Regions from separate parts of the Homo sapiens genome. Here region 2 is linked to region 1. Evidence: promoter capture Hi-C in 16 types of primary human blood cells and fetal thymus (Javierre and others, 2016). All regions are on one chromosome and are shown on one strand. The core of a region is centred on a gene start or on the middle of the fragment in contact, and the rest is flanking DNA. Distances in the headings are between cores, read along the strand shown. Region 1 holds the start of CHRNA10 (cholinergic receptor nicotinic alpha 10 subunit). Region 2 overlaps STIM1 (stromal interaction molecule 1).

What was found. The method cuts DNA at HindIII sites, captures the fragments that hold promoters and counts their contacts. A CHiCAGO score of 5 or more calls a contact.
Region 2: a contact is called between a fragment that was not itself captured here and the fragment with the promoter of CHRNA10 in region 1, in 6 of 17 cell types (total CD8 T cells, non-activated CD4 T cells, total CD4 T cells and 3 more). The highest score is 6.0, in total CD8 T cells.

The regions. Positions count from the first base shown.
Region 1 is chr11:3,667,120-3,674,325 of GRCh38, reverse strand. CHRNA10 (cholinergic receptor nicotinic alpha 10 subunit) reads left to right here and starts at 2,942. Exons shown (of 5, transcript NM_020402.4): 1 at 2,942-3,074; 2 at 4,385-4,530; 3 at 4,976-5,130; 4 at 6,562-7,094. The coding sequence starts at 3,014. The HindIII fragment of the contact is 7,798 bases long and covers 1-5,250 here.
Region 2 is chr11:4,034,416-4,041,621 of GRCh38, reverse strand. The region is part of intron 3 of STIM1 (stromal interaction molecule 1); the gene reads right to left. Among named protein-coding and RNA genes, the nearest start is that of RRM1, 57 kb to the left of the region's middle. The HindIII fragment of the contact is 594 bases long and covers 2,560-3,153 here.

The DNA of each region.
Region 1 (7,206 bases), core at 1,693-4,192:
AGCAAAGAACACCTGACCTGGTTTCCTTACCAGAGGAATGTTTCAGAAAGTGAGTATGCTATAGAAATGGTTAGCTCTTAGCAGTGTTCGGAATTGTGGGCCAGGAGTGGTGGCTCACACCTGTAATCCCAGCACTTTGGGAGACCAAGGTGGGAGGATCGTTTGAGGCCAGGAGTTCAAGACCACCCCAGGCTACATGACAAGACTCTGTCTCTAAAAAAAAATAAAATTAGTTGGGCATGGTGGTGTGTGTGCATAGTCCCAGCTACTCAAGAGGCCTAAGCAAGAGGATCGCTTGAGCCTAGGAGCTGAAGGCTGCAGCGAGCCATGATTGTGCCACTGCACTCCAGCCTGGGCAACAGAGCAAGAAAAAAAAGGTTCTCAATCAAAGGTTTATCATAGAAGCCATGTTGTGCATAAAAGAGAATATCAACTTCCAGTTCAAGATAAGGGTGATGAACAATCTCTTCTTTTTTTTTTTTTTTTTTGAGACAGAGTCTCGCTCTGTCCCCCAGGCTGGAGTGCAGTGGGGCACGATCTGCAAGCTCCACCTCCCGGGTTCATGCCATTCTCCTTCCTCAGCCTCCCAAGTAGCTAGGACCACAGGCACCCGCCACCATGCCCGACTAATTTTTTTTTGTATTTTCAGTAGAGACGGGGTTTCACCGTGTTAGCCAGGATGGTCTCGATCTCCTGACCTCGTGATAAGCCTGCCTTGGCCTCCCAAAGTGCTGGGATTACAGACGTGAGCCACCGCGCCAGGCCTGAACAATCTCTTCCACATCCCAAAATCCCGTTGAAATAGTAAAAAATGTTTTAATTTCAAAAAAAATTCTCAAAAACATAAAACAGGAACCAGTTACCTCAACATTCGATAGATCTGTGGAATCTACAACATTCAAATAACTTATTTTCTCAACAGAACCCAAAGTTAACAGAGGTCTGGAGAATTAAATATTGGAATAATTAAGCAAAGGCCTGCAGAGTATCTGCTCTTTTTAGATGTTTCATCTTTAGCTCAGTTTTGTTAATTTGTATTTCCAGAAAATTGTTCCAGATTTTTTGTTATTCAAATAACCAGTCCTTAGACGTATTAATCAATTTTACTGGAGTTCTGTATAATCTTAATTTCTGCTTTAAATGTTCATTTCTTAGGCTTTCCTAAGGATTTGTTAAACCTTGTATTGGTTGGGCACGATGGCTCACGCCTGTAATCCCAGCACCTCGGGAGGCTGAGGAGGGAGAATCCCTTGAGCCCAGGAGTTTAAGACCAGCCTAGGCAACATAGGGAGACCTTGTCTCTTAAAAAATGAACAAAAATTAGCTGGGTGGTGTGCACCTTTAGTTCCAGCTATTCAGGAGGCTGAGGTGGCAGGATGGCTGTAGGGTATTTTGGTAGTTGTTCTTTAACAAGTTAAGGACAGTTCCCCTCTACTAGCTTGAATAAGTGAATGTTGGATTTCAATTTGAAATGATGTGAAACGCTTGTGTGTTAGGAAGGTGGTTGGAGATAAGCAGAGTACCTGGGAGAGGGGACGGGTGGAGAAAGTGCAGGGAATCACTGGCATATCCACGATGCCCAAAGTCATGGCTATGGATGTGATTGCCAGGGAAGTATGTGCTGCTGTTGGTCAGGCAACTGGTCAGCTTGAACAAAAATAATCAAAACTCTGTGCATGATAAATACCTGTGACCTGAGGATAGCCTGGCTACCTTACTGGGACCACAGTGTAAATATTGTTGATGACCTGCTGTACCTTAGGCACCGTGCTAGACAGTGCCTTGCACTATCAGGTTATCTCATTTAAATCCTTGCAGTTTTCAAGATGAGTACTGTTAATCCCATTACCAGATTGAGAGAACAGAAACCCAGAGAGTTTAAATATCTTACCCAAGTGAGAGCGCTCATAAGACAGGGCCGAAAGTGACTGAATGCTTGCCCTCTTCTCCCACACTGCCCACAGTGTTTGGGCAAGGTGAAAAAACAGGCTCAGATGGGAATGACTGCAGGGAGTCTGAGGAGAGGATGTGGGCTCCATCTTCTGCTCCACTGGGTCATCTGGAGTGGCCTGAGGCTCAGCACTACTCCCACCAGGAGGGAAGGGCTTGCTTGACCCAAAGTGCCTAGCCTGGAGTGTCTAGTCCCGCACTGCAAGGAGAGCTGCAGGTCTAAGGCAAACCTCCACCTCCAGAATTCAGGCAATGGTGGCTAAGATGAGAGGACAGTTATCCATCCACTGACCCTGGCCCCTCACACTCTTAAGCCCTGGTCTTCCACATACCCTGACCCAGCATACCTGTACTCTCCAACACCCGAGGATGGGCCTGAGCTGAGTCTGTGTGCTGCTTTACAGAGTTTGAATAATTCAAGCCCCAGAGGCCCGAGGTATCAGTTTCCGTTGCTCTGTTGTCATAGGCACGGTGTAATTAAGCTAATGAAAGGGCAGAGAGGGAGGGGCTGTGGTCCTGTGCCTCGGACGACTCTGGGCTGATCAAGGGAGGAGTCCCTGGTCCCTGTTCTGCTGAGAGAGCAGCAGGCCCATCTAGAGTCCAGGTGTGGGGAATGGAAGAAGGAAGGAATGAGGGATGAAACAGAAGTAGGAGAAAGGGAGAGAGAGTGGAAAGAGGCAGGCAGGGGATGATCAGAGTCAGGGAGGCAGAGAGACCAAGAAAGTTACAGACGGAAAGAGAAGGAAGCAGAAACAGAGTGAAAGACAAAGCAGGTGGGGAGCATAGGAAAGGGCAGAGGCAGAGGCCAGAAGAGGCAAGGACCAGCAGAGAAGAAGAAAGACCAAGTACTAAAATCCAGGGGCAGGCACAAATTGGAGGGTCAGAAGACTGGAGGGGCTGCAGGGCTCGCTGGAGGGTGGCTGGACCCACCAGAGATCTGTCTTACTTCTGACTTCTAGGTACTGTCCACACCATCCTTGCCAGCTGGGCCTAATTTTGCCCTAGGTCTGGCCAGGAGGCCTCACATCCAGAGACCTGCCCCCGCTCTTGCAGTGCCAGGGCCATGGGGCTCCGGAGCCACCACCTCAGCCTGGGCCTTCTGCTTCTGTTTCTACTCCCTGCAGGTATGAAGCTCAGTACACCAGCCCTGGCCTCTCCTGGTGGTGCTACTATTCCTGTTCTCCCAAAATCCCTTTCCATGTAGTCTCTCTTGTGTTTCTCCTCAGTACCTGTTCTGAGAACAAGCTCTCTATTTGGGGAGTGTGGAGGAGAGGGGTGCTGAAGTGCGTGAGAGGAGACTTGCCTGGCTAGGGTGGAAACAGTGAGCGGGGAGCTTCCAGAGACAGGGCTGGGAAAATCAGAGGGGCCAGATGTTGAAGGGCCTGCCGGCCAGGCCAGGTCTTTCTCCTGCAGATGACGGGGAGCACTGAAAGGTTTCAGCAGCATACTAGCCTGGTCAGATGTGCATGCTTAAAAGCGTGGTCCTGGGGCATGGGAGGGGTAGAAGAAGGTGAGCCTTTGGGGAAAGGGAGACAGTGAAGGGAGGGCCCTGACCTGGAGGGGAGAGGGTAGACTCAAGACGATGTTTCGCAAAATCTGGAGGATTTGAATGATCTGACAGGATCTGGAGATTAACTGGATTCCCCGAGGAGGAGGCAGCAGAGGGAGAAGGGAGGGATAATTCCCAGATTTCCAACTAAGGTCACTGTTGAAGCTGAGGGCATGCTATTTGCTGAGATAGGGAACATGGGATAGGAAGCAGGTTTCAGAGCATGGAGGGAGGAAGCGAGTTCATATTTTGGACCCTCAGAGTTGAAGGTGCCTGTGGGAAACTCAGGAGTGGACTGTACTCTATTGGGGTCTGGAGCTCAGGAGAAAAATCTGGGATGAAGAAAAAGATGGGAGCCAAGGACAGGATTCATGGGAACAATGTTTAGGTCAGGGATTGAGGAAAATTTGTGTCAGTAAAGCCTGGGGAAGTGTGTTTTCAGAGTGAGGGAGTGTTCCATCGCATCAGAAGTTTTGAAGAAACCAGCTCGAGATGGAGAAGTGGAAACAGGTTTGAGAGATACTGGAGGGGGCAGAGCAGTGGGGTTTAGAATCCCTGGGTGAAAGTCTGGACTCTTGTGGCTTATTTGGGCCCCTCTAGCATTTGTGGAGAGGCAGGCAGACTCCAGGTCCTTGAAAAGGGGAGGGTGGAGGAGAAATTTGTCAGCCTGGCGCCAGAAGATAGTACCAGTTCACTCCATGGCCTTTACCTCATGTGTCCCTGCAGGCAGGCCAGGGAGGAACTAGAGCCACAGCTAGAGCAAGAGAAGGCAGACACCAGGAGGACACTCATAAGGACAGGGCCCCAGCCCTGGGAGTGGAGGGTGTGAGCAGAGGCCCTGGGACTAGGGCCTGGGATGGACAACCCTCCTTACTGACCCTCCAGAGTGCCTGGGAGCTGAGGGCCGGCTGGCTCTCAAGCTGTTCCGTGACCTCTTTGCCAACTACACAAGTGCCCTGAGACCTGTGGCAGACACAGACCAGACTCTGAATGTGACCCTGGAGGTGACACTGTCCCAGATCATCGACATGGTGCGTTGTGGTGGTGGTACAGCTGTGGAGTCTTACCTGTCACAGTGTCAAGAAATGAAGGGGTGAGAGACTGGGATTATTCTCCATGGAATTTCTTTTCTGTAAATGTTAATATTAACAAAGGTAGCAGTTACAAACTGTTGGGTACTGACTGTTGGGTACTGAGTATTGGGTGCCTACCTCGTGCCCAATATTTTGTTCACCTGAACTTACTGAATCCCTGCTAAGCAGGGATTCTCACCCCATATTCCTGCTGAGGAAACAGGGGCAGAAAAGAGAAGAGCCCACTAAGGTCACATGGCAAGGTCAGGTCTGGGTGGGAACTGGACGGTATGGACAAGTCAGGTTTGTGGGTGCTGACCAGAGCCCTGCAGGGGAGTGTGCACAGACAGGGCAGGATATGCATATACATGTCCACATCTCTGCCATTCCCTGCCCCCACTAGGATGAACGGAACCAGGTGCTGACCCTGTATCTGTGGATACGGCAGGAGTGGACAGATGCCTACCTACGATGGGACCCCAATGCCTATGGTGGCCTGGATGCCATCCGCATCCCCAGCAGTCTTGTGTGGCGGCCAGACATCGTACTCTATAACAAGTACTGCCTATCTGGGCCCCTCCTCTCTCTTACCCCTCTCTAGACTTGCCCTTAGCTGTGGGGGTGTAGTGATCCCCTCTCCCTACCACATAACCTGGTTGCCACGCTGCCCTGGAAGCTTTTCCCCAGGACCCTTCTAAGCTGCCAGGCACTCAGCCCCTCCATGGCACCCCCACTTTAGGCTATCCCAGGCCAGCCCAGGCTGAACGTCTCCTCGGAACCTACTGTGTGGTCCAGGGCAGTTGTCTGAATCACAAGGGCCTCTCTAGGGCACACTTTTAGCTCTAAGTCTCTCAGGGCTCCCCGAAGAGCCTGTGTAAGGGTCTCTTTCCTCCAGGACATAGCCCTCTGGAACACTGCTTTATGTCTCCTTGACCAGTTCCGTGTCTCCCAGCCAGCACATAGCTCTGCATATTTTCTCTGGGGCCCTTCTACAAGTTTTGCAGATGTCCCCCAAGGGAAGTCACTGTGTGTCCCGGAGCTACCTCTGGGTTCTGCAGAGGCCTTTTTATACATCCTCTGGCTACGTCTGTGTCCCTTCTGGGCCCTTCAGGCACCACCCCTTCCAGGCCTCGAAAGGCAGCGGGTCTCTCTAGGTGCACTCCACCCTCTGTGTTGCTTTGTTCTGAAAACAAGAATCAAATTAACGAAAAAAAAACAAGCACAAGTTTATTTATTTATTTGAGACACAGTCTCGCTCTGTCGCCCAGGCTGGAGTGCAGTGGCGCTATCTCGGCTCACTGCAAGCTCCGCCTCCCGGGTTCACGCAATTCTCCTGCCTCAACCTCCCAAATAACTGGGACTGCAGGCACCCGCCACCACGCCCAGCTAGTTTTTTGTATTTTTAGTACAGACGAGGTTTCACCGTGTTAGCCAGGGTGGTCTCGATCTCCTGACCTCGTGATCCGCCCACCTCGGCCTCCCAAAGTGCTGGGATCACAGGCGTGAGCCACCGCACCCAGCCACAAGCAGAAGTTTATTAATCTGCTGTACCCATCATGGGAGAGGCCTTAGTTCAAAAGTATTTCTCTCTGAAGGCAGTGACTTAGGGGCCTTGCTTAAATAGAAATTCAAGAAAGAGCCAGTAAGTTATAAATAGTGGCAAGACAAAGGACAGCCACCTTTAAAAGGCGGGAAAACGTGGAAAGAGGGTAAAATCTGTTTCCAGATTCCTCTGGCACCTACTGGTGCCCTTTGGATAAGCAAGTGCTGACTCCAGCAAGGAAGGGCTGATGTCCTGCCATCAGGCCAGCAGACGCTGGGGCCAGGTGCTCCCCTGCGTCGTGAGTGTCTCGAACTTAACGAGCCTCAATATTCTGGGGAGAAGTTTTGGTTTCTTTCAGCCCCTGGGGGTCTGCCCTGGGCTCCCGGCCTCCGGGGCTGCTCCTCAGGCTGGACAGCCTAGGTGAGCCCTGCCCCGCCTGCCCCCAGAGCCGACGCGCAGCCTCCAGGTTCCGCCAGCACCAACGTGGTCCTGCGCCACGATGGCGCCGTGCGCTGGGACGCGCCGGCCATCACGCGCAGCTCGTGCCGCGTGGATGTAGCAGCCTTCCCGTTCGACGCCCAGCACTGCGGCCTGACGTTCGGCTCCTGGACTCACGGCGGGCACCAACTGGATGTGCGGCCGCGCGGCGCTGCAGCCAGCCTGGCGGACTTCGTGGAGAACGTGGAGTGGCGCGTGCTGGGCATGCCGGCGCGGCGGCGCGTGCTCACCTACGGCTGCTGCTCCGAGCCCTACCCCGACGTCACCTTCACGCTGCTGCTGCGCCGCCGCGCCGCCGCCTACGTGTGCAACCTGCTGCTGCCCTGCGTGCTCATCTCGCTGCTTGCGCCGCTCGCCTTCCACCTGCCTGCCGACTCAGGCGAGAAGGTGTCGCTGGGCGTCACCGTGCTGCTGGCGCTCACCGTCTTCCAGTTGCTGCTGGCCGAGAGCATGCCACCGGCCGAGAGCGTGCCGCTCATCGGTGAGCAGCGGGGGCGCGGGGGGACCTGACGATGCGCTGGGGTCCCCCCAGGGCGGGGCCGCGACAGGGCCTGGGTCTGCGGAACGGCCCCACTGCAGAAAGTGAGAGGGGG
Region 2 (7,206 bases), core at 1,607-4,106, 370 kb before region 1:
AAAAAAAAAAAGAAGAATGTGAACTTTGAAACCAGGTGTCTTGATTTGAATTTGCAATCTGCCACTTACTAGATGTAAGACCATGGGCAAATTACTTAATATTTTGTGCCTCATTTTTTTCACCACCAAAATGATGAAAATCAGAGTTTTCACATCATAAAAATGTAGTAAAGGGAAGCTCCTAGCATACTATAAGTGTAAAAAAAATCATCTATAATTATTATCGCCATTCATTTATTCATTCATTCACTAAGCTTTTATTGGCTTCTACTCTAGCAGGTAAAGGGTGAGTTAACCAGCACAGAGGTGAATATGCATGAACTCCAGCCTCAAGGGCTCTCTTCTAGAGAGGGGAATATACAAGGAAACAAATGAATATAATATAGTGTGATAAATGCTAGGTCACAGGGATATATAAGGTGATGTGGGAGCACAGAGAAAGGAGTGACTGACAGAATCAGAAAAGGCATCACAAAACCCAGCTTCTTATTGGTCTGCTCTGAATAACAGCACTCCAAGGCAGCTATCAAATCCTTCCAAAGTGGCCCTTCCTAAAGATAGTGTGTGACCTGGAACTGTGAATTGTCTCTTTAAGTAGCTTCCTTCTGGTTCCCACTAGCAGCTTCTCATCTGGGACTACAGTGAGGTAAAGGTCTTCATTTTCTAATCTGATGTCATTATCAAACCCTGAACCATCATTGCAAAAATAATCTGGCCTAGGCCTCATGTGATAGGCTCACTAGGCTACCAGGCAAAAACCAGGTCTCCCAGGGCCCAACAGGACATGCTATTAAAGACCACCAAGAGAGAAACCACAAGGTTAGTAGAGACAGATTAGAGAAGTCTGGCAGCATGGCTGCAGAGTAGTAAGAGAACCTAGGTGCTATGAAATGTTGGGTAGGCCAAACAACTTATCTAAGATCACACAATCAAACAGTCAAGGACACATTTTTGTGTGCTGCATTCCTACTCTGGGCCAGGCCCTGTGCTAAGTATTAAGAGATAAAATCATATAAAATGCTGCACTCCAGTAGTCTGATGGGAAAACCGGCAGTGGAACAGATCTTTGCATTTAGTGTGCTAAGGGCTGTGAAGAGATAGGGGCTGTGGGAACACAGAAGAAGACACCTAACTTAGCCTGTGGTTTTCAGGGAAGAAGACTTAAAGAAATGATTAATTGAGTTTTAAACAGATCAACAAATGAGAAAGATGAATAGAGGAAACAGCATATATGAAAGCACCATGGGATGAAAAAGAACAACATTTCCTAGGAACTGCCAATAAAGCAGTGCACTTCCAGAGGAGATGTGGTGTGGAATGATGGAAAACAAGTAGATCAGAGAAATAAGCATGGACCTTGTATGCTAAACTCATCTAGCACAATGCCTAGTATATAGAAGGTACTCAGTAAATTTTTAACACAGAAATGTTTACATAAATTATAGGAGAAAAACACTACCTTCTAGGGCCAATACCACAGAGGTAGATAAGGAATAACAGAGAACTACAGCATTAAAATATAAATAAACTCTCAAGATATAAAATACCATCAGGGCTGAGCACGGTGGCTTACACCTGTAATCCCAGCACTTTGGAAGGCCGAGGCAGGCAGATCACATGAGGTCAGGAGTTCAAGACCAGCCTGGCCAACATGATGAAACCCCATCTCTACTAAAAATACAAAAAATTAGCTGGGCGTCATCGTGGGCACCTGCAAACCCAGCTACTTGGGAGGCTGAGGCAGGAGAATCACTTGAACCTGGGAGGCAGAGGTTGCAGTGAGCCAAGATCACGCCACTGTACTCCAGCCTGGGCAACAGAGTGAGACACCATCAAAAAGTACAATATAATAAAATAAAATATCATCAGATTTTTATTTATGTGTACATATTACTCTTTTCTCCCAGATAAGGTAATTCATTTTGAGATTACAGATGGACATTTAATTTCAATACATCTGACTAACATCTCACAGATAAACATGAAAAAAAAATCACTGACATTTTCTTTCTTTCGTTTTTTTTTTTTTTTTTTTTGAGATGGAGTCTTACTCTGTTGCCCAGGCTGGAGTGCAGTGGCATGATCTCAGCTCACTGCAACCTCTGCCTCCTGGGTTCAAGCAATTATCTGCCTCAGCCTCCCGAGTAGCCGTGATTACAGGTGCCCGCCACCATGCCCAGCTAATTTTTGTATTTTTAGTAGAGACGGGGTTGCACCATGTTGGCCAAGCTGATCTTGAACTCCTGACCTTGTGATCCACCTGCCTCAGCCTCCCAAAGTGATGGGATTACAGACATGAGCCACCACGCCCAGCTTCTTTCTTTTTTTCAGAGATAGGGTTTCATTCTGTCACCCAGGCTGAAGTACAGTGGCATGACCATAGCTCACTGTAGCCTCAACCTCTGGGGCTCAAGTGATCCTCTCACAGGGCTGGAATTGCAGGCATGAGTCACCACACAGAGCCAACATTTTCTATAATTTTTTTTCATCAAAAATTACTAAGCTTTGGATATCTTATTCTGTTGAGTCTCAAATGAGACAGCAGTTGTGATCTAAGCTTATCGCTACTCCTACACAAGCTGAAGGGTTATCCGACCAATAGGAAAGCCAGTATTTATTCTTTCAAAATAACATGATTACTATTTATTGCTATACAGGTATTTACTTGTAACATTTTTAACAGTATCTTTATTTCTCCAACTTCCATTTGAGAATATTTCTTACACCCAGAAATTTGATGCCCTAACTTGTTTGTTTCATGTATGAGAGAAAAATGGGAAAACTCTGAAAAATGTAAGCAAAGACCTCGTCAGATCTGGAACCAAGTGAAAGATACATAGCAGTAGAGCTAGGCTGGGCCAAGAATAATGGTATATGAAGAACAACGGCCCAAGCAAAAGAAGATTCAGCTGACACTTCTGTTTCAGGGTAAGCTGAAGTACCAGAGATGGAATTTACCCTCCCTCCTGAATTAAAATTACCCCTCCCAAAAAAGACAACATATATGAAATAATGGTTTTCAGGACACTGGACATCAGCCTACAAAGGACAATGACTCTTGAGAGATAGGAAACAAATGAGGGAAGTTATACAATTGCCCCAGCTTATGGCCTTGAATTTCCAAGCCACAGTGCAAGGATTAAAATCTAAGCTTGAGAGAGGGAAATGAAAATACACTACTGGAAGCTTCTTTTTTTTTTTATTATTATACTTTAAGTTTTAGGGTATATGTGCTACTGGAAGCTTCTTATACTACATGTGACATGTTATAATATATCTTGAAAGTAGGCCCAGTGCAGTGGCTCAGATCTGTAACACCAGTACTTTGGGAAGCCGAGGTAGGCGGATCACCTGAAGTCAGGAGTTCGAGACCAGCCTGACCAACATGGCAAAACCCCATCTCTATTAAAAATACAAAAATTAGCTGGGCGTAGTGGCATGCACCTGTTATTCCAGCTACTCAGGAGGCTGGGGCACGAGAATCTCTTGAACCCAAGAGACAGAGGTTGCAGTAAGCCAAGATCACACCACTGCACTCCAGCCTGGGTTACAAAGCAAGACTCTGTCTCAAAAAAAAAAAAAAGACTGTGATGAGTTAAAGATACATATCTTTTATCTCCTAAAGCAACCACTAAAATACCAGTTATATCTAATAAGCCAACAAAGAAAATACAATTGAATTATAAAAAATACTGAATTAACCCAAAAGAAAGCAGAAAAGGTAGGAAAAGGAATTAAAGAACAGATGGGACAAACGGAAAACAAATAGCAAGAAAATGGACTAACCTAAATTATCTTATATTAATAATCATATCAATCATATTTGATTAATCATATTAATAATCACACCAAACGTAAATGGTCTAAATAATGCAATTAACAGATATTGTCACATTGCAAAATATACATATATATATATAGGACCCAACTATATGCACCTACAGGAAATGTACTTTAAATATAAAAATACAAATAGATTAAATGTAGAGGGATGGAAAAAGACATTCCAAACTAACAACAGTCAAAAGACAGCTATATTTTTATCAAAGTAGATTTCAGAGCAAAGATTACCACGAAGGATAAAGCAGTTCATTTCATAATGTTGAAGGGGTCAGTTAATCACTAAGAAATAATCATCCTAAATCTTTATGCACCTAGTAACAGAGCTTCAAAATACGTGAACCAGAAACTACAAGGAAAAATAGGCAAATCCACAGTTATAACTGGAAACTTAAATACTCCTCTCTAACAATTGATAGAACAAGTATGCAGGCTGGATGCAGTGGCTCACGCCTGTAATTCCAGTACTTTGTGAGGTTGAGGAAGGCAGATCACTTGAGGTCAGGAGTTCGAGACCAGTCAACATGGTGAAACCCTGTCTCTACTAAAAATCCAAAAACTAGCCAGGGATGGTGGGACACACCTGTAATTCCAGCTACTCAGGAGGCTGAGGCAGGAGAATTGCCTGAACCCAGGAGGCGGAGGTTGCAGTGAGCCGAGATCATGCTACTGCACTCTAGCCTGGGCAACAGAGCGAGACTCCATCTCAAAAAAAAAAAAGAAAGAAAGAAAGAAAAGAAAGGAAAAAGATAGAACAAGTAGGTGGAAAATTGATAAAGATATGTAGACTTGAACAATACCATCAACCAACATGACCTGATTTTCTCCCACTCTGTAGGTTGCCTGTTCACTCCGATGATAGTTACTTTTGCTATACAGAGGCTCTTTAATTAGATCCCATTTGTCAGTTTTTGCTTGTGTTGCATTTGCTTTTGGCATTTTCATCATGAAACTTTTGCCTGTGCCTATGTCCTGAATGGTACAGAATGGGAGAAAATGTTTGCAATCTATCCATCTGACAAAGGTCTAATATCCAGAGTCCTCAAGGAACTTAAACAAATATACAAAGAAAAAATAAACAACCCCATTAAAAAGTGGGCAAAAGACATGAACAGATACTTCTCAAAAGAAGATATTCATGCGACCAACAAACATATGAAAAAAGCTCAACGTCACTGATCATTAGAGAAATGCAAATCAAAACCACAATGAGATACCATCTCATACCAGTCAGAATGGCAATTACTAAAAAGTCAAGAAACAACAGATGCTGGCAAGGTTGCAGAGAAAAAGGAACACTTTTACACTGTTGGTGGGAATGCAAATTAGTTCACCATTGTGGAAGACACTGTGGTGATTCCTCAAAGATCTAGAAGCAGAAATACCATTTGACCCAGCAATCTCATTACTGGGTATACACCCAAAGGAATATAAACCATTCTATTATAAAGATAAATGCACATGTATGTTCACTGCAGCACTATTCACAATAGCAAAGACATGGAATCAACCCAAATGCCCATCAATGAAAGACTGCATAAAGAAAATGTGGTATATATATACCATGGAATACTATGCACCCATGAAAAGGAACGAGATCATGTCCTTTGCAGGGACATGAATAGAGTTGGAAGCTGTTATCCTCAGCAAATTCACGCAAGAATGGAAAACCAAACAGTGCATGTTCTCACTTGCAAGTGAGAGCTCAACGATGAGAACACACAGACACATCAGGGGGAACAACATACATTGTCAGGGGAGTGGGAGGAGCGAAAGCATCAGGAAGAACAGCTAATGGCTGCAGGGCTAAACACCTAGGTGACGGGTTATCTGTGCAGAAAACCACCATGGCACACATTTACCTATATAACAAACCTGCACATCCTGCACATGTACCCTGGAACTTAAAAGTTGAAAAAAAAAAAAAAAAGCAAAACAACAAAAACAGACCTGATTGACATTTATAGAACTCTCCACCCAACAGAACACATACAAGTGCACATGGGATATTTAACAAGATAGACCATGTCCTAGGACATGAAAGAAAAAAATCTTAAAATTTTTTAAAGGCTTCAAGTCACATAAAGTATGATCTCAGATCACAATGGAATTAAATTAGAGATCAATAACTAAAAAAGTCTAAAAAAAATCTCCAAATGTTTGGAAACTAAATAACTTGCTTCTAAATAACTTGTGAACTAAAGATGTCAAAAAGGAAATATAAAATATTTTGAGCTAAGTCAAAAAAAAAAGCACAACATTTCATCCAATATAATGATAAACCAATAACGGATGGATCTAAGGTCTAAAACAGATTTTAAAGGTATGCATTTCCAGGGCAAAAAGAATCTCTCAAATTAGAACATATTATTAAGGGATACTAAGTTATTGAAGATTATATCAGGAAAAAAAGTAATAGGAGAACATTTGCCATTAATTGTGTCTTCACTCTAGGTATTTTTATTCGTCTGCGCTACTAATAAATCAGTTGGAAAAGAGGAAAAAAAAAAAAAAACACAATACACCAGAATTTGGGACATGCCTCTAAAGCAGTAGTTAAGGGAGATTTACAGCACTAAATTCTGTATTAGAAAAGAAGAAAGGTCTCATACTGGTGACCTTAGTTTTCACCTTACCAAACTAAAAAATAAAAGAGCAAATGATATCCAAAGTAGCAGATGAAAGAAAATAATACAGATCAAAGTGGAAATCAATGAAATAGAAACCAGAGAAAAATCAATAAAACCAAACACTGGTTCTGTAAAATTAACAAAGATCTAATAAGACCAATCAGTAAAGAAAAGAAGACACAAATTATTAAGATCAGTAATGAGACATTATTACTGATTTTACAGACATTAAAATAAGGCAATTTTATTAACATATACCAGTAAATTTGACAACACAGGTGAAATAGACAAATTTCTTGAAAGACACAAAGTACCTAAGCTCACTCAAGAAATAGATAACCTGAACAGCCTTATACCTATTAAAGAAATTGACACTATAATTAAAAACCTTCCCACAAAGAAAACTCTAAGCTCAGTTAGCTTCACTGCTGAATTCTATCAAATATTTAAGAAAAAATAATACCAATTCTACATGAACTCTTCAAAAAAACTTGAGGAATACTTCATAATTCATCCTATGAGACAAACATTATCCTGATACCAAAAACAAAGACATTTTAAGAAAGCTACAAACCAGTATCCTTCATGAACAAAGACATAAAAATTTAAAACAAAATTTTAGCAAATCTAATCCAACAATACAGTGAAAGGATAATACATTATGACCAAGGGGATTTATCCCAAGAATGCAGGGTTAGCTTTACACTCAAAACTCAGTCACTGTAATTTATCAAAT